Regions from separate parts of the Homo sapiens genome. Here region 2 is linked to region 1. Evidence: promoter capture Hi-C in 16 types of primary human blood cells and fetal thymus (Javierre and others, 2016). All regions are on one chromosome and are shown on one strand. The core of a region is centred on a gene start or on the middle of the fragment in contact, and the rest is flanking DNA. Distances in the headings are between cores, read along the strand shown. Region 1 holds the start of SUPT16H (SPT16 homolog, facilitates chromatin remodeling subunit). Region 2 holds the start of ZFHX2 (zinc finger homeobox 2).

Evidence for each region. Contacts are between HindIII fragments. The CHiCAGO score rates a contact against its expected background, and 5 or more counts as called.
Region 2: the fragment with the promoter of ZFHX2 here is called in contact with the fragment with the promoter of SUPT16H in region 1 in 1 of 17 cell types (non-activated CD4 T cells); the score reaches 5.2 in non-activated CD4 T cells.

What each region holds. Positions count from the first base shown.
Region 1 is chr14:21,381,917-21,387,638 of GRCh38, reverse strand. SUPT16H (SPT16 homolog, facilitates chromatin remodeling subunit) reads left to right here and starts at 3,620. Exons shown (of 26, transcript NM_007192.4): 1 at 3,620-3,777. The coding sequence starts at 3,712. It overlaps CHD8 (chromodomain helicase DNA binding protein 8), which reads left to right. Exons shown (of 38, transcript NM_001170629.2): 38 at 1,463-2,440. The coding sequence ends at 2,026. LOC107984643 (a long non-coding RNA gene) reads right to left here and starts at 3,366. Exons shown (of 2, transcript XR_001750627.2): 1 at 2,926-3,366. The HindIII fragment of the contact is 3,293 bases long and covers 2,951-5,722 here.
Region 2 is chr14:23,548,532-23,553,729 of GRCh38, reverse strand. It overlaps ZFHX2 (zinc finger homeobox 2), which reads left to right and starts at 1,965. Exons shown (of 10, transcript NM_033400.3): 1 at 1,965-2,387. It also overlaps a transcript of THTPA not described here. RefSeq lists enhancers at 1,612-1,661, 2,511-3,173 and a silencer at 1,792-2,031. The HindIII fragment of the contact is 16,619 bases long and covers 1-3,525 here.

The sequences.
Region 1 (5,722 bases), core at 2,371-4,870:
GATACAGAGTTTCACTCTTGTTGTCCAGGCTGGATGGAGTACAATGCCGTGATCTCTGCTCACCGCGATCTCCGCCTCCTGGGTTCAAGCGATTTTTCTGCCTCAGCCTCCCCAGTAGCTGGGATTACAGGCATGCGGCACCACGCCCAGCTAATTTGTTGTACTTTTAGTAGAGATGGGGTTTCTCCATGTTGGTCAGGCTGGTCTCGAACTCCCAACCTCAGGTGATCCGCCTGCCCTCAGCCTCCCAAAGTGCTGGGATTACAGGCGTGAGCCACCACGCCTGGCTGACTCCCGGCTAATTTTGGTATTTTTAGTAGGGACAGAGTTTCGCTATGTTGGCCAGGGTGGTCTTGAACTCCTAACCTCAAGTGATCCACCTGCCTCAGCCTCCCAAAGTGCTGGGATTACAGGCATGAGCCACCACGCCTGGCCCAGAATTCTTAATATAGAATTGACAGTGAATCTAGCACTACGTTATTCTTGGGACCTGCAGGAATAACTTCTATCTTCAATGAACTTAATCAGAATTTTTAGTCAGAACATCTAGAAGAAGCCATTTAAAATTCAGATATGTAAGTTTTTTATCAATGTGGAACAAAAATTATTTTATTAAATTTAGTGAGGAGTTTCTGACAGTTTTTTGGTGTTCTAGACATGTAGAAATCTTTATCTGATCTGTCTTGAATTTACCCTGCTTTGATGTGCTAATAGAGGATATTATTGTAAATGTCAATTCACATAGTAAGAACAAGTGAACAACTTGCCATCAGGAGACACGAGTGATTTTTTTTTTTTTTTTGAGACGGAGTCTCGCTGTCGCTCAGGCTGGAGTGCAGTGGCGCGATCTCGGCTCACTGCAAGCTCTGCCTCCCGGGTTCACACCATTCTCCTGCCTCAGCCTCCCGAGTAGCTGTGGGACTACAGGCGCCCGCCACCTTGCCCAGCTAATTTTTTGCATTTTTAGTAGAGACCGGGTTTCACCGTGTTAGCCAGGATGGTCTCGATCTCCTGACCTTGTGATTCCCCCGCCTCGGCCTCCCAAAGTGCTGGGATTACAGGCGTGAGCCACCGCGCCCGGTCACAAGTGATTTTTTTTATGTGCATTTACTAATTCATTGTCTTACCCAGACCCCTTCTTAACAAAGGTAAGCATTTGTGAAATGGTTGACTAAAGTAAAGATACAATATAGTCATGGGGAAAAGAAGCAAAAACTGGTTAATATGAGTTTCGGTACAAAATCATTGATCTTAACTTTAGTATCAGAATGTTTCAACCAGCTAAGTCCAGCATTTCCTCCTTCCCATTACCACCAATCAAGCCTAGTATCGCTGTGCTTGTTTTGCCTCTTCTAAGGTACATTCAGTAAAAAAGCATTGTAAGCTAGGACTCTGTTGGCTTTGGTTTCTTTTCTTTTTTCCCCTTTCTTTCTTTTTATTATCTTCTATTCCCTCCTCCTAGGGTCATCACACTGAAACGGTGTTCAACCGGGTTTTGCCAGGGCCTATTGCACCAGAGAGCAGCAAGAAGCGGGCCCGTAGGATGCGACCAGACCTTTCTAAGATGATGGCCCTCATGCAGGGTGGAAGCACTGGGTCTCTATCTCTGCATAACACGTTCCAACACAGCAGTAGTGGCCTACAGTCTGTGTCATCTTTGGGTCACAGCAGTGCCACTTCTGCATCTTTGCCTTTTATGCCATTTGTGATGGGTGGTGCACCATCATCCCCTCATGTAGACTCCAGCACCATGCTTCATCACCACCACCACCACCCCCACCCCCACCATCACCACCATCACCATCCAGGCTTGAGAGCCCCTGGCTACCCCTCTTCACCAGTGACTACCGCCTCTGGTACTACCTTGCGGTTGCCACCACTGCAACCTGAGGAGGATGACGATGAGGATGAAGAAGATGATGATGACTTATCTCAGGGCTATGATAGCTCAGAAAGGGACTTCTCACTCATTGATGATCCTATGATGCCAGCTAACTCAGACTCCAGTGAAGATGCTGATGACTGAAGCCCCAGCATGGGCCCCATTGCTTGGGCGGCTGCTGTATTTTCATTTACTCTGGCCCTTGGACTATGGAAACGTGGGAGGGGCAGGGGAGATGTGGGGAAGTCCAGGACTCCAGGAGGTGAAAAGGAAAAAAAAAAAAAAATGTACCTGATTGCTCCCAATTATGAGAGGATTGGGTGGGCAGGGGAACTCCTAAAATAATACATGACCACTTCCTCATTTCTGGGGAAGGAAAGGAGACTAGAGCAGCTGGTGTGCTCACCCCTCCCTAGTCACCTCCATTAACCACAGACTATGTAGCGCTGGCCCTAGCCTCTGGCAGAGCCTGTTCCTGGCCGAACTGTGGATACAGCTGGAGGGTCAGGAACTGTTACCTTCTTTCCCCTTGGCATTAATAAATTTAAGTTAATCCTTTTCCACTCTTCCTTTGTTCTATGTTTGCTCAAACCCAGTGTATTGATTTTGAGTTGTTAATGGTGGGTAATTTCAGCACCACTTTCCTTAAGTTCAATACTGTTTATACTAAATTGCCTTACAGCAGACAAGTCATCTGTACTCCTCTAAAGGGTATATACAAATGTAGACTGTCCAGCTGGCTAAAGGCAAGGGAATTATTTAAGGTAAATGGTAGGTAGGCAAACTTCTGGATTCAAACTCCAAGTTTTTAGAAGAGACAGGGAGCAAGAATGTCATCAGGAACCATTTATGTTTTGTTTCTAATTAACTGAAGTAACGGTTATTTGGGGGAAGCCATAGAATAGTGCCAGTTTTCATGAACTGCAGCAAGGGGACTGGCCGACTGGAAGGATGCTGCCGCGACTTGGGCTCAGGGGGTGGGGTTGTGGGAAGGAACTAAAAGTTTGTAGAGCCCCTCAAGTCATCTGTTTCCTCTGACTTACACCATCCCACTGCTCAGTTAAAGCTTGCGCATATTATTTTCCTTTCGAAAACTAGGTTCCTCCCCCAGCTTGGGTCGTAGTTTATCACGAGGCTGGGCTCCATTTCCCTGGTATGAGTCCTCTGTCCCGGCGGAGCGCTTGACCCAGCATCCTGGCACCGAGGATCCCTCGAGTCCTGGAGCAGTCAAGGGCTTTTGCATTCCCATCATTTCTAGGAGGGGCGCATGCCCAGTTACACTGTAGTAGTCCCACTTTTATCCCACGCTAGATCCCGCTCTTTCCGCTCCCCCTTCCTTTGCAGATGGGGTGGAGCTATAACACCCGCGCGCGGCAGCTCTTGTGGGCGGGGCAGGCGCCGCCTCCTTCGCTTCGTCTAGGGACTGCCGCCTCGGCAAAAAGTCTGAGGTCCTGGAAACCGCCGCTGGGCTGAGAGTTAATAAGGGCGGAGGCAGACCGTCACGTGACGACGTCGATTCGCGTGCGGCAGTGGCGAAGTTGACAAACCCCGCGAAAATCGACTCTTTGCATCGCACATTTTGTTGATTTTCCCTCGTTTTTCTTTCTCTCTTTCCCCCGTCCATCCGAAAGAGGGTTGGAAAAAAACAAAACAAACAAACAAACAAAAAAAAAACCTAACGCTGTTGGGACCCGGAAGCGGAAAGGGCATCTTTGAGGTCGATACTTCCGGGTCATTGGGAGAGTGCGGGATTCCTGGGCCGAGAGCGGGTGGCTGAGCCGGGACCTCGCGTGATTCTCGGAACCCGAGGAGAAGCGGCGTCCGGGGCTATGGCTGTGACTCTGGACAAAGACGCTTATTATCGGCGAGTGAAGAGACTGTACAGCAATTGGCGGGTGAGGAAGATCCTGTAATTTTTCCTAGGGAGCCCCCTTAGCCATCCCATAATAACCCTGTTTCTCGGCGCCCTTTTTTCTCTTTCGGTCAGGAATTCCCGGGTTCTGTGCCTCACCCTTTTCGTTGCTCCCGAATCATTCACCGGAGGCGGCCACGAACGCTGCCCCTTAACAGGGAATCCCCCGCATTCACCCTGTCCTGCGGCCATCACCATCTTCCCCGCGTGCCAGCCTTGGTCATGCATAGCAGCACCTCTCGCAGTCTCTTCCCGCCCTAGAAGAGGCAACATCCTTCCCTCCTACTCCGTGGTCACGTCTTGCTGCCCTCCCCTGCCGTGTTCTCACGCACTCGCTCTGTCCCTCCAGAACCACAATATTCCACCCCTGGTCCCGCCAGGATTATAACCGTCTTCGTAAAGGAGAGATGGAAGGGCAAGGAGGATGTCAATCGGGCTTTTAGCGTTTATCGTTTGCGGGGCTTTTGCTGGAGTTAAAAAAAGAAATACTGCTCACGCGCAACCGCCTCATGTTCTAGGCCCTGCTGTGGGTTACAGAGAGGGACCTAACGCTGAAAGCCTGCAGGCATTAGTAATAACAAAACAAAACAAAACGATGCCTAAAACCTTATTAGTTCCTTGGTAGCGTATCCGGGGCACGTGTTCATTAAAAGAGCTGTGGCAGTTCCCAGTTTTTTAAAGATTCGGCAGTTTTGCTGCTCTAAAAACGTCCACAGTTAAAACTTATTTTTATGATGTTAACTTACTAATTGAGCAAACATTTGGTTGCATTCTGTGATGCAGTCTGAGTTGGCTAGCTTAAGTCTTGCCCCTGAACCCTGTCATCAAGGGAAGATACAGCTAATAAAGATTTTTTTTTAACCTGAAAAACGTTTTGAGAAAAATGATCAGCTCTCATTTCAGCATTGTAAATTATCTTTCAAACTGGTCATCTACTAAAACCAAGCCATTAAAATTGGTCGTTTCCTTGCCATTCATATTAAAGCTGTCTGTGCATGTTTCATCTTTTGGGGCTAAATACATTAGATAATTGAAAATAAAATTGATTCTCTTGCATTTTATGAAAAGGAAAAATAAGAACTAAATGCTAGATGAATACTGAACATTTTATTTTTTTTAATTTTTTGATTAATTTCTACCAAATGATTTTTTGCAGCTTCTCTCAGTGTCATATTATTCAAACATAATCGATGTTAGAAAAACATTTTAAAACCTTGATACTTTCTAATGATCAGTAAGTACTAAAAATCCGAAGCCCTCTCTTGTACCCATAAACCCTGAAACTGTGAACCTTTGGTATGAAAATTGTTTCTAGTCCCAGTGATTCAGATTCATCAAATAATTTCATTCTCTCTATACCATTCATGAAAACTAATCTATAGCTCTCACTTCCTCTACATGACAAATTAACTGTGGCCTGAAGACAGGTTGGCAAACCTAATAAAACTGATAGTCTTTAAATCCATGAAAGTTATTTCCCACCCACCATTTTTTTTTGTATCTCAAAAATCTTTAAAGTTTATCTTGGCCCTCTTACTACCTTAATGACATCATCTTGGGAGAATGTTAGATATTGATAAGACACTGATGGTGTAAAGTTATGAGCCAAATCTATGTAAAAATGTACCAGTTAACAAAACCTGTGGCTATTATGAAAAACTTACTTGAATAAGACTTTCTGCTTTTGTGTTAATGTGTCCAGAACCCACCTGTAGAAGTTCTTTGTGTATGCAGTCTTTTCACCCTACAGTGCTTTCATTCTGATACACTTAATCAGAGATAGTAGTTTTCTGGGTTAAATCTAGTCGCTTATCCTCCTGGATATAGCAGAAAGATAGTGGGATATATAGGTGTGTTGTATAACTTTTCTCTTTTACACCTTTTCCTTTTTTTAATAAGAAAACTGGGATTGAAATAGAATAAGTTGA
Region 2 (5,198 bases), core at 716-3,215, 2.2 Mb before region 1:
GTAGAGATGGGGTTTTACCCTGTTAGTCAGGATGGTCTCGATCTCCTGATCTTGTGATCCACCCGCCTCCACCTCCCAAAGTGCTGGGATTACAGGTGTGAGCCACCACGCCCGGCCTGTTTTTGGTTTTGAGACGGAGTTTCACTCTTGTTGCCCAGGCTGGAGTGCAATGGTGTGATCTTGGCTCACCGCAACCTCTGCCCCCCGGGTTCAAGCGATTCTTCTGCCTCAGCCTCCCGAGTAGCTGGGATTACAGGTGCCCACCACCACGCCCAGCTAATTTTGTATTTTTAGTAGAGACAGGGTTTCACCATGTTGGTCAGGCTGGTCTCGAACTCCTGACCTCAGGTGATCTACCCACCTCAGCCTCCCAAAGTGCTGGGATTACAGGAGTGAGCCACCATGCCCGGCCAGCCTCTGCTTTTTCATTGAGAAAATGTGGCCTGCCTCACAGTTACCTGTGAGGATTCAGTCATAAACTGTCACATAGTATAAACTCAAAATGTTCATTTATCTCTCCTTTTTGTCATGTGAACTTCAGGGTTTTGTTGTGTTGTTTAAGAGAAGTAGGCTATAGCAGTTAGTATGGGCCCTGGAGCCAGACCATGGAGGTTTTTGAGTCCTGGCACTGTCACTTACTTATTGGCCATTGGACCTTGGGCCTGTTAATTCACTTGTTTGTGCCTTAGTTTCCTCAATAAATGAGACTATAATAGCATCTACCTCATGCTTGAGGTATTGAGAGGAGTAAACAATGTATGTAAAAGTGCTTGGAACTGTCCCTGTGCATTCAAGAAATCTTAAAAATTATTATTAGAATACAGGAGCGGCCGGGTGAGGTGGATCACCCCTATAATCCCAGGACTTTGGGAGGCTGAGGCCGGTGGATCACCTGAGGTCAGGAGTTCGAGACCAGCCTGGCTAAGATGGTGAAACCCCCGTCTCTACTAAAAATACAAAATTAGCAGGGCATGGTGGTGGGCACCTACAATCCCAGCTACTTGGGAGGCTGAGGCAGGAGAATCACTTGAACCTGGGAGGTGAAGGTTGCAGTGAGCCGGGATCATGCCACTGCACTGCAGCCTGGGCGACAGAGTGACTCTGTCTCAAGAAAAAAACAAACAAACAAAAAAACGGGCTGGGCGCGGTGGTGGTTCACACCTGTAATCCCAGCACTTTGGGAGGCCGAGGCAGGCGGATCACAAGGTCAGGAGTTCGAGACCAGCTTGACCAACGTGGTGAAACCCCGTCTCTACTAAAAATACAAAAATTAGCTGGGTGTGTTGATGCATGCCTGTAATCCCAGCTACTTAGGAGGCTGAGGTAGGAGAATCGCTTGAACCCGGTGGTGGAGGTTGCAGTGAGCCGAGATCGCACCACTGCACTCCAACCTGGGCGACTGAGTGAGACTCCGTCTCCAGAAAAAAAAAAAAAAAAAAAATTCAGGAGCACTTAATAAGCGATAAACTGAAGATGAGGAGGAGCCCGAACCTCCCCCAACCCAGCTCAGGGGACTATGTAACCGTGTGGAGGAGGCAGAAGCTCTCAGAGACTAAAGAGTAATTGCTGCGGTAGAGAAGGTTCTAGTACCCAATTTCGCGGGGGGAGATGGGGGAGGCGGAATAATAAGGCAGGAAGAAGAGAATGAAAAAAGGAGGCCTTGGGCGGCTCAGGGCTTGTTCTGAAGCTGATTTAAAACAAAACAACAAAACACATGTATGGTTTCTGCAGGCCACAGGATGAAGAGGAGAGGAGACGGAAAAGAGTTTAAAGGGGCCTGCCCTCTTTGCAGGCACCGGCTTGAACCTGGAGGCGACCTGGTGGGCTGGCCGGCCTGCCCCCGGCCCTGGGTCCCGCGAGGCAGGCGGGCGGGCGCGAACAGACTACAACTCCCGGCATGCGCCGCGGCGGGCGGGTCGCTGCACCTGCTCAGTGGGGCAGCCCCGGGCGCCTGGGTATTGATTATTCCATTGTGTGGGACGCCTAGACTCCAGCCAGTGAATGAGGCGGAGGAGTGAGGGCGAGGAGGAGGAGGAGGAGGAGGGCGAGGAGGAGAAGGAGGAGGAGGAGGAGGAGGCAGGGAGCGAGCGAGTGCCCAGGGTGAATCAATGGAAACCCCCTCACGAAGCCGGGGAAACACTTCAGCCGCAGCCAAATAGCATTGATTATTTTCCTTCACTTCCCTCACCGCCGTGAATTTATTTATTTATTTTTTTCCGTCTCCGTCCCTGACGCCCCGGAGCGAGCGCTGGAGGGAGGGAGGAGGAGGGGAAAAAAGAGGAATCAACACATCGGAGAAGTCCCTTCCAAGAGCCGCCCCCTCCCCTCCCCGCCTCGCGCTGCTCGGTGGCCGCGGTTCGACTCCCGTCCCTGCTTCCAGCTGAGGTGTAAGTGCATCGATTTCCGATGCTGCTGGGTTGGTTTTTTTCTCCTCTCCCTCTCTCTCTTCTTCCCTTCCTTGCTCTTTGGAAGCTCGAGACGGGAGAGGAGGCGCTTGGAGACTGCCGCTGGAGGGGACGGAGAGGGACGGGAAGGGGCTGGGGGAGGGGACAAGGACGGACGGACAGACAGACCGAGAGCCCTGGGAGATAGCAGACAGGGGTGTGGGAGGAAGAGGGCGTGCGCGAGGATGGGGGAAGAGAGATGCGGGGGTGGAGGGAGAAACGGGAACGGGAAAGGCAGAGGCCCGCCGGACAGACGAAGGGTATGGAAAGCCTAGACGGACCGCGCCGAGTTGGGCAGGGAGCGGGGATCCCGGGGGGAAGGGGAGGCCCGGTGAGTGTGAGGGCTCAGAGCTGTCAGCCTGGAGGGTCCTGGGTCTCGGCGGCCCCCCGCCGGCTGTGGGATGGGAGAACCGCGGCCGGCGGGCTGATGGATGGGCTAGCGCGCTGGGGCGTGGAGTGGGAGGGGACGTGGATACTCTCAGTCTTCGTTCGTTTTTGGCTGAAGTTGGGCTTTCCATTCCTTTTTTTGAAAGTGTTGAGTAGGTGAGGGGAGGCCATAAGCCCATTCAAGGTGAAGCGTGTCTGTCCTGCACGCCCATCCTACCACCCCCATCCGCTCGTCTGCCCCTCTGAGCAGCCCTATCATTTTCAAGCACAGGACCACGCTTCCTCGCTGTGCCTGTAGCCCCGCTGATCTCTGTCCATGTGTCCCTGACTTTTGGTTTTGCTGTTCTTCATCTTGTCTCTTCCATCCCATCCATCTCTGGATCTGTATGTCACTGTCTCCACTTGTGACCCTTCCCATCTGAGTGATCCTCTCCTTGTGTGTCTCTATCACTATGTGTCACGCCTTGGCTGCCTGTTCTGTCGGTCTAGGATTCCATGCCCTCTCCTTCAGAGTCTGTCTGGATATCTCTGGCCTTTTCAGGCTACTTTGGAATTTGCTTATCAGTCATGATTGTGGTGGTCACAGTCAGGGCCTGGAGGAGTGGGATGATGGAGCAAATGTGTCTTCGCCAAAGCCTCTAGTGCCTTCAGCATGGCCAGGACAGCCTCCTCTTCCACCATCACCAGAGAAGCTTTGGAACTTCCTAGCATTGTTGACTGTCCCCTTTGCCATGTGCCTGTCTCCCTCATCAGAACCTCACCTTCTGGTCTCATGCGTGTCATCTGCCTTTCCAGGAGCTTCGCACAACAAAACCTCTTCCCTGCTGACTTAATTTTACTCCCTTCCCCCACTGTATCATTGTATATTTTTTATTTCCCCATTTTGCTTCACCCCTTTTTTCCATCTGTTTCCCATGAGCTCTGAGTTTCCACCTTTGTTCCCATAATCTGCCCTCTTCCTACCTTTTCTTCTTGATCACCCTAAGTTTCTAGTTTCTTTTATCCCTTTTCCTCTTATCCAGCATTTTAACCCCAGCAGCAGAAAGTACCAGCAAGCAAAGGGCTGGGAGAGGTGTGGGGTATGGTTTGTGAAGGCACATAAACAGGCCAAGAAATAAATTTAATGAGCTTCCAGGGGCATATAACCCCTCCATCAGTCAGTGCCATTATGTCAGTTAACTGTCAACTTTGATTTTGTAAGGGGACATTCCCTAGGACTCTAAGCTCCACCCTGCCTGGTTGCCCCCCATCCTTCAGTTCATTCTAGATATCAGTTGCTTTTTCTTCACTTTTTAGTTCATCTTCTTCCTAGGCCCCTGCTACTATCATATTTAGATCCAGCACCATTTTTTTTTAATGAGGCAGTGTTTATTAGTGTAATAAAAGCTATCGTATGTAAGGAGCCAAGTTCATTTAGCCTGAAGAACAGTAAGGGTGGATAAAGGATCTGGAGAGTTTACCTTAGTTTTTAGCCCATCATTGTTTTTCCAAACCTCAGGAGCTTGGAAAGGTAAAAGGAGCAGGCAGACATGGGCAGAAGATGGACGATTTCAGAGGTGAACAGAATTAAAGAAAGAAAGGGGTGGTCGGTGCAATAAACACATGGGGTAGAGAAATGTATGACGTGAGGGATGTGCAAAGGAAGGGAGGAAAATCTATGCGGACTCGGGGGCAGGGGAGGAACCAAGGGGTGATTAATAAGAAATTGGAAGAATGAAACAAAACGTGTTGATAGCAATACAGAAGGTAAAAGGAAGAGAAATGATAGAATATTCCTAAAGTGGAGGTCAACAGAAAAAGCACTATGAAATTAATACAGTAGTAAAGAGGGGGAAGGGAGGAATTGCTGAACAAGATGAGATGGGAAGAGAGTATGGTACAAAGAAGGTAAATGGATGGCAAACGAAGGAGTGCTGAGGCAGATCAGAGCTGCACAGAGCTTGGTAGGAGGAAAAGAGGAGAGGATGAGGTATCAAAGGAAACAAATGCCTCTGGTGTGAGGAGGACACAGCGTGACTGATGCGAAGAGAGCGAGAGCACTGCGGGGGCGCCGGGGGGTTGGAAAAAAAGCATAGCACAAATAGCAGGAATACCACTGGGCGAAGCCCCAGAAGAGAGAAATGCCCAAGAGAGGGAGAGAAAGCAGAAATATCCAGGGAAGAGACAGAGAGAGAGAGAACCTCACGAGCATTCATTTCATTGGCCTAATCACTCACTACCCCCACGAAAGGCCTTTGTATTTCATTCCCAAGCCAGAACACAAGCAAAGAGATGAAAAAGTAGAATTCCCATAAACTTCAGCTGAGAGGAACTTGAATCTTCCCAGCCCCTGAGAACCAAAGACCTCAAGCCTCTGATGTCATAAAT